Linked DNA regions of Homo sapiens: region 2 is linked to region 1. Evidence: promoter capture Hi-C in human tissues and cell types (Jung and others, 2019). All regions are on one chromosome and are shown on one strand. The core of a region is centred on a gene start or on the middle of the fragment in contact, and the rest is flanking DNA. Distances in the headings are between cores, read along the strand shown.

Region 1 (3,795 bases), core at 1-2,500:
CTCTGCGTCGTGCTTCGGGGTGCCCGAGCCAGGAGAGGGAGGGGCAATCCAAGGTAAATCTGGTCCCCCAAACTCCCCGGAACTGCAGAAGAAGCCGGCCACGTGACTCGGCCGCATCCGGAGTGGGCGGGGACAGGAGATCGGCTGGGCCCGGCCCCCTCACCAATGCAGAAACGCGTATCCGAGAGGCAGCAGCATCTCCAGGTCCCTAACCCTGTGGAATCGCCCTAAAACAACGGGTGTATCAGACCCATCTCCTGCAGGCAGGAGCCTGGGCAAGCTACATAACCTTCGGTTTTCTCAGCCCTCGGGCCGTATACAGGGGGCGGGGTGGTTTCCGGGCGGTGCCCGCCTGGGTCACTTCCCTAAACTCGGCTCCACCCTCACTCAGGCCCATCCGGGAAGGCCTCGCTGGCCCAGGGCTTCGGCACCGGCGGCCGGGCCTGAGCGTGCGCGCACGCGCCGACAGACAGCGCCGTTCCAGCCCTCGCCCGATGCACGGGTGAGAACGCAGCTCGTTAGATGCGCTCCCGAACGGGCCGCGGTCTCTGCGATGCCCCCTCCAAGCCTTGCGGTGCAAGGCCTTAATCGCAGGCACCCACGCCCCAACCGGGACCCCGTCTTCCCAGCATCACCCCTCGCCGCGCCAGCACCCGCCCCTCCCGGGCGCAGGCATCCCTGCCACCTGCTCCCGAGACGGACCCGGCTGCCGAGGGAGGGTGACGCGCAGACAGGAACAGCCTTGGGTGGGGCGCGCGCGCCGAGACCTCTCGCGCGCTTTTTCCTCGCCGCCCCCGGGCCGGGTTTGGACGCCGCATGCTCCAGTCGAGAGCGCGCCCCTAAGAAGAAAGGCGCGACGCCGGCCGTTCCGCGAGGGGCGCCCCAGCGCGCGCCCCGAACCCCTCCCCCCGCGGCCGGTGTCCGCGCGGGCGCACCAGCGGGTGGGGGAGGGGAGCCCAGGCGGAGCGCGAGCGACGTCCAGACCGGCCCTCCCCGGCGCCCACGGGCGCGCACGCGCATTCCGGCACCGCCCGCCCCTTCGTGCGAGACCCTCATCCCGCCCGGGGCGCTGGGGGAGGGGGTGCGGACGTCGCTCCCCAGTCGCTTCCCGCGCGCAGGCGACCGACCCGCAGCCGCCTCCCTCAGGCGCCGTGGCCTGCCGCTCACCATGTTTCCGGAAACGAAAAGGAGAGGGCACCGAGAGCCGCAGAAGACGAGAGCGCTGCAGCCGCTGCCGGGACCCGACTGAACGCGGCCTCTCCCGGCCCCTTCCGTTTAGTAGGAGCCGCACAATGAGGGGTGGGGCGGGCTTCCGGCGCTCCCACCGCGAGCCGACGGGAAATGGAGTCCGCTGGCCCTGCGCCGCCGCCTCGCTCGCTGGGTAACGGAGTCTTCCCGCCGGCCGGCTCCGAGCTGCAGTGCATGTAGGGAAATGTAGGCCCAGGTCCTGGGCGGCACCGCAGCGCGCAGCGCGAGCCCATTGGTCCAATTTCCCAGGAACCGCTCTGAGCCCGGCGAGGCGGCGCTCAGTAAAATGACCCGAAAACGATCCCCGACTAAGCGGCTCTTTATCCCACAGCAAAACGGCTTTCTTAAGACCCATCTGGTATTATCTGGATCCCTTGGCCTGAAATTTTTGAGTGAGGTTAGGGTTTTGCATTTCTGAATCGAAGCAACTATTGATTAGCCTGGAATCCCGACCTAAAGCAAAGGAAATCACAAGTATGAAGGCGTCGTCAGTCGGATAAACACTAGTACTCTGCATGTGTAAAGCCACTCTCGTCTCCTGAAAAAAGGCCATGTCCAACGTCAGTAAAACAAGAATAGGAGGAAAAGGCACAGGGGAAAGGTACAAGGAAATCTCTGAGAGCTTTGTTCTTGTTTAAAGATGTTTGGCAAAGTCATGAGGCGTTAAAGGGTAAAGACGAGGGTTTGTGCATTCAATTCAAGGCTTCTTTACATGCCTTTACGTGCCAATGAGAAGAAATAGATATTAAACCAGACTTGAACCCAGCTCTCGAGTTGATAGCCAGGTACATGGTTATTCTAACATCCGCAAAACTGAGACAAGTTCTGTGGTAGTATATGCCTTAAAAAAAAAAAGAAACGAGCGGGGGACTCCGGGATGATTTTGTTGTTCTAGAACAGTGACCACAGCCTCACACTCTGCAGGAAAAGACTGGGTCGCAAACAAGTCAGAGGCAAACCCAGAAAGGGAACTGGGGGCCCTAATCCTATAAACGGAATTAAGGGTGTAAACGGAGAGCGATGCCTGGGAGTGGGGTACCTTGCAGAGCATACCGGGGGTTGTAGTCGGGGACATTCCACAGCACCGCCCCCGCCCGGACTCCCGGCGCTCCAGGTGGAGACAGCAGCTTGACCCCGCCTCCCGCGAGCGACCCTACATGAATATGAGGCTAGCGCCCCCTTTTCTGAGCCTTAGAGTTTCCAAGAGCAACGGGGAGAGAGAGGGGGGCTTCGCAGTTACCCTGGAGACGCGCTCTCGCCCGCCCCCAGCCGCGGGATGCCCTAGATGTCCTTATTAGGACAAGAGACTCGAGGGGGCGGGGCCAGCCCGACAGCCGGCTTGAGGCTCCTTATAAGGCCGCGGCGGGCGGGAGGCGGGAGCCGGAGCCCATTGGTCCAATTTAGCTTGGCTGGGGCTACTGCGCCGTGGGCTAGGCACAGTCCTGAGGGGCGGGACTGGAGCTCTGGCGCCCACCTCTCCCTTCCTCGCAGGCTGGAGACCTGCGTGTTGCGACTTCCGGCATAGCAGCTAGAGGCCGGGTGCTGCTTCAAACCCTGGCGGGTCGCCTGTGTCCAACTCAGCTATACGTGTCTTTCAGGCTTCTCAGGTTGAAGCCCTTTGTAGGGTTTCCATCTTCAACCTCCCTGAGGGTCTCCCACTTCCGATTAGCCACAAAAATGACGAAGTGTTCTCCCCTCTACCTGTGTCTGGGCTTCTTAACCCGCAGCCTGCTCCTCCGCTCCCAAACCCAACCGCGTGCCCATCTCAGGCCTCCCCAACTGCCAGGATGCCCAAGCACCTCTTACTTACAGTCCTCCTTCCTCTAGGCCTCTGACCCCCGACATTCCGAGTTCTATTTTGGGCCTTCTCGGCACGTCCCCGACTTCCTCTCCACCACACACTCTTTGCCCTGTATCCCGGGGATGAGGATCACCATTTCCTCCAAGGGTCCTGCAGCTCCTCCTGCCTTACCTTTGTGTCCTCATCCCCGGCACCCATTTCTGGGTGTCCCTCCCACCAATACGTTTGCACCCGTTTGTCTCCTAGCCCCCGCCTCTCCTGGACTCTTTTCAAGACCAGTCTCCATCTCCAGCCTCCTTCAAGCTTGAGGCTGAAGCTGACAATCTTAAGAGACCTTAGAGCCGCCAAGCTCAGGTTAGTCCGTTAAGCGCCGCCCAGCCAGTCCTCCCCGTCACAGGGGGCGCTGTCCGCCTTCCTCTCGCCTACACAAAGACCCCGCTCTCGAATCTGGGGTGACAGGAAGGAGCCGGTCCAGGCTCCGGGGGCTGGGAAAGGGCGCGTCTCAAAGGCTGGCTGGAGTGGAGCCAAGGGAAAAGATCGTTAGAGACAGCGCCCCTGACCAACCACTTAGAGCAGCGCAGGGGTGGGAGGGCGGCCGCAGGCTCTCCTCTCGTTAGTGCCCCCTGTGTTTGGGGCCCCGTGATCTCAACGGTCCTGCCCTCGGTCTCCCTCTTCCCCCGCCCCGCCCTGGGCCAGGTGTTCGAATCCCGACTCCAGAACTGGCGGCGTCCCAGTCCCGCGGGCGT
Region 2 (6,645 bases), core at 2,044-4,543, 760 kb before region 1:
CGAACCTCGGCCAGGGAGTACGAGCAGCTGAGGCGTCTGAGGGGATGTGAGTAGGACTGGACTGGCCTGAGGTGATGCGGCATCTGAGGTCTTCTGGGCTGATGTGATAGGCCCGGAATTGGGGGCGTGGCCCAAGCGTTGACAGGCGCGGGGCTGGGCTTAGGCCGAGCCCCAGGATTTCAAATGCTGACAAACACCAAACACGGTTGAACCTAGTAACCCCTGAGCTAGGCCACTTAGGGCCCCCTGCCTGGGATTCCTGACAGCCGGCGGGGGTTTGCGGGGTGGGTGGGGATCAGAGATTTCTTGCCCTGAAAGCCTATCAGCTGCAGGCAAGGCTGGGGGACATGAATGCCTCCTGACCCGAACACTAACCACCCAACTTCTTCAGCTGCGTAGAGAGTGCCCTCTGGCCCAGTTGATGGACAGTGAGACGGACATGGTGCGGCAGATCCGGGCTCTAGACAGCGACATGCAGACCCTGGTCTATGAGAACTACAACAAGTTCATCTCAGCCACAGGTGATCCCCACGGGGACACACCCTCCAAAGTCTCACAGCCCCCATTCTCCCACCTGTGTTGGGAAAACCAGCAAGGGATTTAGAGGGGGGAGACTCAGATTCCAGTCTTGTCCTGACATTATTCCATTCTCACCTCCTTTCCTTTGAGCCTTCGTTGTCAGACTACTATAGAGATAATAGCTACTCTCAGAGGGTTGTCTTAAGTACCAAAGGAGAGAAAAGACAAAAGGAGATTAGTTGTTTATTTTTTAGAGACAATGTCTTGTTCTGTCTCCCAGGCTGGAGGGCAGTAGCATGATCATGGCTCACTGCAGCCTCGACATCCCAGGCTCATGTGATCCTTCTGGATCCTACCAAAGCACTGGGATTACGGGTGTGAGTCCCTGGCCCAGCCCAAAATGAAATTTTAAAATGAAATGTATTTATCTGAAGCACTTAAAAGGCCAGGCATGGTGGCTCATGCCTGTAATCCCAGCACTTTGGGAGGCTGAAGTGGGAGGATCACTTGAGCCTAAGAGTTTAAGATTGACCTGGGAAATATAGTGGGACTCCATCTCTACAAAAAAATAAAAAATAAAAATTAGCTGGACAAGATGGCGTATGCCTGTAGTCCCAGCTACTCAGGAGACTGAGGAGGGAGGATCACATGAGCCTGGGAGGTCGAGGCTGCAGTGAGCTGTGCTTGTACCACTTCACTTCAACTTGGGCAACAGAGCAAGACCCTGTCTCAAAAAAAAGAAAGTATCTATCTGAAGAAGCATCCCAGACACTAGGCTGGGCACAGTGGCTCATGCCTGTAATCCCAGCACTTTGGGAGGCCGAGGCAGGTGGATCACCTGAGGTCAGGAGTTCGAGACCAGCCTGGCCAATATGGTGAAACCCCATCTCTACTAAAAATAAAAAAATTAGCTGGGTGTGGTGGCAGGCACCTGTAATCCCAGCTACTCAGGAGGCTGAGTGGGAGAATCACTTGAACCTGGGAGGTGGAGGCTGCGGTGAGCCAAGATCACGTCACTGCACTCCAGCCTAGGCAGCAGAGCAAGACTCTGTCTGAAAAAAAAAATAATAAGAAGAAGAATCCCTGACATCAAGGAAACCTCAGTAAGGTGTAGTTTCTCTTATTATTGATAGCTTTCTTTTCTGCTCCAGGGAAGAATAGGTGGTCTTGTCCCTCCCTTTCTTTCTCCCTTCCTTCCCTCCTTAACTAAGCAAAGAGAGAAGATGTATGATATTAGGGGACACAAAGATCATGTCGAGGCTTTTTTTTTCTTCTGTCCTCTTTATTCTCTAGTGCCAGACAGTGTTCCACTGTTTTCCACACTAGCTTCTGTGCTGTTTTGAGGAGATGTACTACTCAGACTTTTGTAGTAATTGTACACCCACGTGTAGTAAGTCCAGGAGCCAGATCCAAAGGGTTTACCTGCAGCCTGTGGAATGTTCTGGGAGCATCTGTGGGGTTGCATTCTGATGTCTTACTCTCGTGTCACAGTGGTGGGTGTGGTAACCTATACACATTGTTCTTTTATCTGATTTGAAGCAGATTCCATGAGTAGGCACCTTTCTGTTAGCTAATACCAGCATCAAAATGGCAAGAAATCATAGTTTCTGTGCTGGGATATTTCTCACAGGAATTTAATAAGATTACATTTTCCATTTGTTGGAATGTGTATAATAATATTTTGAGACTTAGCTCTTTTTGTACATCCCACAAAAGGAACAAACGTTTGGAAAAGTGTGAGGATAACCAGGAGCATTGATGTCTTAGAAGCTTAAGTGAGGGGCCGGGCATGGGGTTCTCACCCGTGATCCCAGCACTTTGGGAGGCTGAGGTGGGTGGATCACTTGAGGCTAGGAGTTCAAGACCAGCCTGGCCAACATGGTGAAACCCTGTCTCTACTAAAAATACAAAAATTAGCTGGGCAAGGTGGTGCATGCCTGTAGTCCAAGCTACTCATGAGGCTGAGGCAGGAGAATTGCTTGAACCCAGGAGGTGGAGGTTGCGTGAGGAAGGTGTTTCAAGACATAGATTTGATAGACTTGGGCGAGACACTCAGGAAAGTAATGTAGCATGGAGTGTGTGTTGATTGGGCAAGAGAGAGAGAAAAATGAGAAAGGAACTAGGTCCTCAGGAAGGAGGGGGGTGGAACAGAGCAGGGATGGAGGCATCGGCCTCAGCAAAGGGCCGGGAGCTCATCTATGGTAGCAGGAGGGGAAGCAGAATGTGGGCAGAGCCAGGCAGATAGTAGATGTGCAGTTTAACTAGAAACCTTCCAGAATGTATTAGGGATTTGGCTTTTATCCACAGAGAGCTAAAACAAATGAGTGATGTGCTCAGATTTCTGGTTTGAATAGATTCCTCCAGCTGCACTGGCAGGAATGGATGGGGCTGAGCACAGTGGCTCATGCCTGTAATCCCTGCACTTTGGAAGGCTGAGGTGGGAGGATCACTTGAGCCCAGGAGTTTGAGACCAGCCTGTGCAACATAGTGAGACCCGATATCTAGAAAAAAAAAAATAGCTGGGTATGGTGGCACACACTTGTTAGAATAAACCCAGCTACTTGGGGAGGCTAAGGTGGGTGGATCACATGAGCCCAGGAGCTGGAGATTGCAGTGAGCTATAATCTCACCATTGCACTCTAGCCTGGGTGACAGAGCAAGACCTAGTCTCAAAAAATAAATAAATAAATAAAAAGGCCAGGTGCGGTGGCTTATGCCTATAATCTTAGCACTCTGAGAGGCCGAGACGGGTGGATCATCTGAGGTCAGGCATTTGAGACCAGGCTGGCCAATATGGTGAAACCCCATCTCTACTAAAAATACAAAAATTAGTCAGGCATGGTGGCAGGCATCTGTAGTCCCAGCTACTCAGGAGGCTGAGGCAGGAGAATCGCTTGAACCCAGGAGGCGGAGGTTGCAGTGAGTCGAGATCGCGCCACTGCACTCCAGCCTGGGCAACAGAGCGAGACTCCGTCTCAAAAATAATAATAATAATAAATAATAATAAAAGGACAGCCCACAGAATGGGAGAAAATATTTGCAAGTTAGTTATCTAATAAAAATCTAGTGTTCAGAACATAAAAAGAACGTTTTTTAGCTCAGGGCTAAAAAGACAAATAACCCTAATTTAAAATGGGCAAAGGATTTGAATAGACACTTCTCCAGAGAAAACATACAAGTGGCCGAAAAGCACATATAAATATGCTCAGCATCATTAGGTCTTAGGGAAATGCAAATCCAAACCACAAAATGCTGCACCCAGTGTGGAAGACAGTTTGACCATTCTTCAAAACCACACACAAGATTACCATATGATCGGCAATTTTACTCCTAGGAATATACCAAAGAGAATTGAAAACATGTTCACATAAAAACATGTACACAAGTGTTCATAGCAGTGTTTTTTTTTTTTTTTTTTTTTTTGAGATGGAGTCTAGCTCTGTCACCCAGGCTAGAGTGCAGTGGTGCCATCTTGGCTCACTGTAACCTCCGCCTCCCCAGTTCAAGCGATTCTCCTGCCTCAGCCTCCTGAGTAGCTGGGATTATAGGTGTGCACCATCACACCCGCCTAATTTTTTTATTTTTATTTTTTGTATATTTACTAGAGACGGGATTCCACCTTGTTGGCCAGGCTGGTCTTGAACTCCTGACCTCAAGTGATCCGCTTGCCTCGGCTTCCCAAAGTACTGGGATTACAGGCAAGAGCCACCATGCCTGGCCAATAGCAGCACTTTTTATAATAGCCACAAGGTGGAAGCAATCCAAATGGCCATCAATTGAATGAATATAAACAAATATCCACACAGTGGAATATTATTCAGCCATAAAAATAGATATAACATACTGACACAGGCTACAACATAGATTAACCTTGGAAACATGCTAATGTTTCATATGCCTATGATTCCATTTCTGTTAAATGTATTCTGTAGCGAATAGACAAATCCATAGAGACAGAAACTAGATTAATGGTTGCCAAGTTCTAGGAGTGGGGGAATAAGGAATGACTGCCAAGGGTTACAGGGTTTCTTTAGGGGATGATGAAATGTTCTGGAATTACGTAGTGAGGTTGGTTGTACAACCTTGTGAATATATTAAACATATTAAAAACCACTGAATTGGTATGTCAATTATATCCCAATTAAAAAGAAAACCAGGCATTGAGCCAGATTTGGCCTGCAGGCTGTAGTTTGCCAACCTCTCACCTAGACATTGAGTTTCATTATGTAATAATGCATTTACTTGTGTCAAAATTAGAAAGATCTCAAACATTATACAGGGAAAAGCCTCTCCTAATTCTTTTCTCTAGGCAAAGACAAAGCAGTCTTTGACAGTACATTTCACTGAAAATTAACAGAGCCCAGGTGGGATTATGGCTCATACCTATAATCCCAACACTTTGTGAGGCAGAGGCAGGCAGATTGCTTGAGCTCAGGAGTTCGAGACCATCCTGGCCAACAGGTTATACCTGTCTCTACAAAAAATACAAAAATTAGCTGGGTGTGGTGTTGTGTCCCTGTAGTCCGAGCTGCTCAGGAAGCTGAGGTGGAAGGCTTGTACCTGGGAGGCAGAGGTTGCAGTAAGCCAAGATTGTGTCACTGCACTCCAGCCTGGGTGACAGAGCCAGACCTTGTCTCAAAAAAAAAAAAAAAAAAAAAAAAAAAAAGAAAATTAACAGACATACAGAAAAGTGCACATAAGTGGACAGCTCCATGGATTTCACAAAGGGAGCACAGTCACATAATCAGCATCCAGGTCGGGAAACAGCATAACCAGCAAAGCCCCCTGAGCCTCCTACCAGTTACCACCCAGTCCCCTCCCAAGGTAGCCAACATCCTCGCATCCAGATGGCTTTCACTCTCCCTGGTTACAAACTGCTTTTCTTAACAAGCTTTTTTTTTTTTTTTTTTTTGAGACAGAGTCTTGCTCTGTCATCCAGGCTAGAGTGCAGTGGCCCAATCGGCTCACTGCAACCTCCGCCTCCGGGGTTCAAGTGATTCTCCTGTCTTAGGCTTCCAAGTACCTGGGATTACAGGCACCTGCCACCACACTTGGCTAATTATTGTATTTTCAGTAGAGACGGGATTTCACCATGTTGGTCAGGCAGGTGACCTCAGGTGATCCACCTGCCTTGGCCTCCCAAAGTGCTGGGGTTACAGGCGTGAGCCACTGTGCCCAGCCTGCTTTTCTTAACAAGCTTGAAATGCAAAGATAAACAGTGTAGTCTTTGTGACTGAATGGTGTGGATGCTTTCACTGTTGTTTTTGGATATGGTACAACTTTTATCTCCAGTGTAATGGCTCCATGGCTGGGAAGGCAGCGACAATGACAGCACACAGCACTGTTGGGTTTTCTTTTACTCTATTTTCCTAACAACTTAGTGTTTGGATTTTACCCTTTAGAAGTTGGATTCAAGCTTCCTTCTTGAGGTAGCCCCTAAGTGTCATGGGCTCAAACACCCACTACCAAAAGAGTCTGCTCTTTTCATGGTAGCTTTTGGCAGACCTGGAAGGAGATTGTGTCACATGGCCTGTAAACAAAACCAGTAATTCACTGGGTGAAGACCAAATGCCTCATCAACTGCCAAGCCTCTGTCTGTCTCCCTTAGATCAGTAGCCCATGATCCCTTTACGAACCTCAGCCTCGGCTCTGCTTTTATTGTTTTTCACTGCATAGCGCTGCCTTTGCTATGTCCTTTAGTTCACCATCTATGAATTGGCAAGAAAAATTTTCTTGCCAGGCACAGTGGCTCACTCCTGTGCTCCCAGCACTTTGGGAGGCTGAAGTGGGAGCATTGCTTGAGCCCAGAAGTTTGAGACCAGCCTGGGCAACATAGAGAGACCCCATCTCTACACAAAATTTAAACAAAAATTAAAAAATTAGCCGGGTGTGATGGCGCTTGTGTGTAGTCCCAGCTACTTCAGAAGCTAAGGTAGGAGGATCACTTGAGCCCCAGAGTTCAAGGCTGCAGTAAGCTGTGTTTGCACCACTGCATGCCATCTTGGCTCACTGTAACCTCCGCCTCCCCAGTTAAGGTGATTCTCCTGCCTTAGCCTCCTGAGTAGCTGGGATTATAAGTGTGCATCACCATGCCTGTAGACAGAGCAAGACCCTATCTCAAGCAAA

Evidence for each region. Contacts are between HindIII fragments. The study calls those that stand out against the background at their distance.
Region 2: a contact is called between a fragment that was not itself captured here and the fragment with the promoter of CFL1 in region 1, in 1 of the 25 tissues and cell types used here (spleen).

The regions. Positions count from the first base shown.
Region 1 is chr11:65,856,930-65,860,724 of GRCh38, forward strand. CFL1 (cofilin 1) reads right to left here and starts at 1,251. Exons shown (of 4, transcript NM_005507.3): 1 at 1,168-1,251. The coding sequence starts at 1,170. It overlaps MUS81 (MUS81 structure-specific endonuclease subunit), which reads left to right and starts at 3,504. Exons shown (of 16, transcript NM_025128.5): 1 at 3,504-3,795. RefSeq lists silencers at 817-1,216, 2,627-2,706, 3,757-3,795 and enhancers at 823-1,363, 1,297-1,346, 1,737-1,806, 2,367-2,456, 2,977-3,026 and 2 more. The HindIII fragment of the contact is 15,299 bases long and covers 1-3,795 here.
Region 2 is chr11:65,096,607-65,103,251 of GRCh38, forward strand. VPS51 (VPS51 subunit of GARP complex) reads left to right here. Exons shown (of 10, transcript NM_013265.4): 2 at 392-521. Among named protein-coding and RNA genes, the nearest start is that of VPS51, 3.7 kb to the left of the region's middle. RefSeq lists an enhancer at 1-207 and a silencer at 5,631-5,925. The HindIII fragment of the contact is 4,540 bases long and covers 1,024-5,563 here.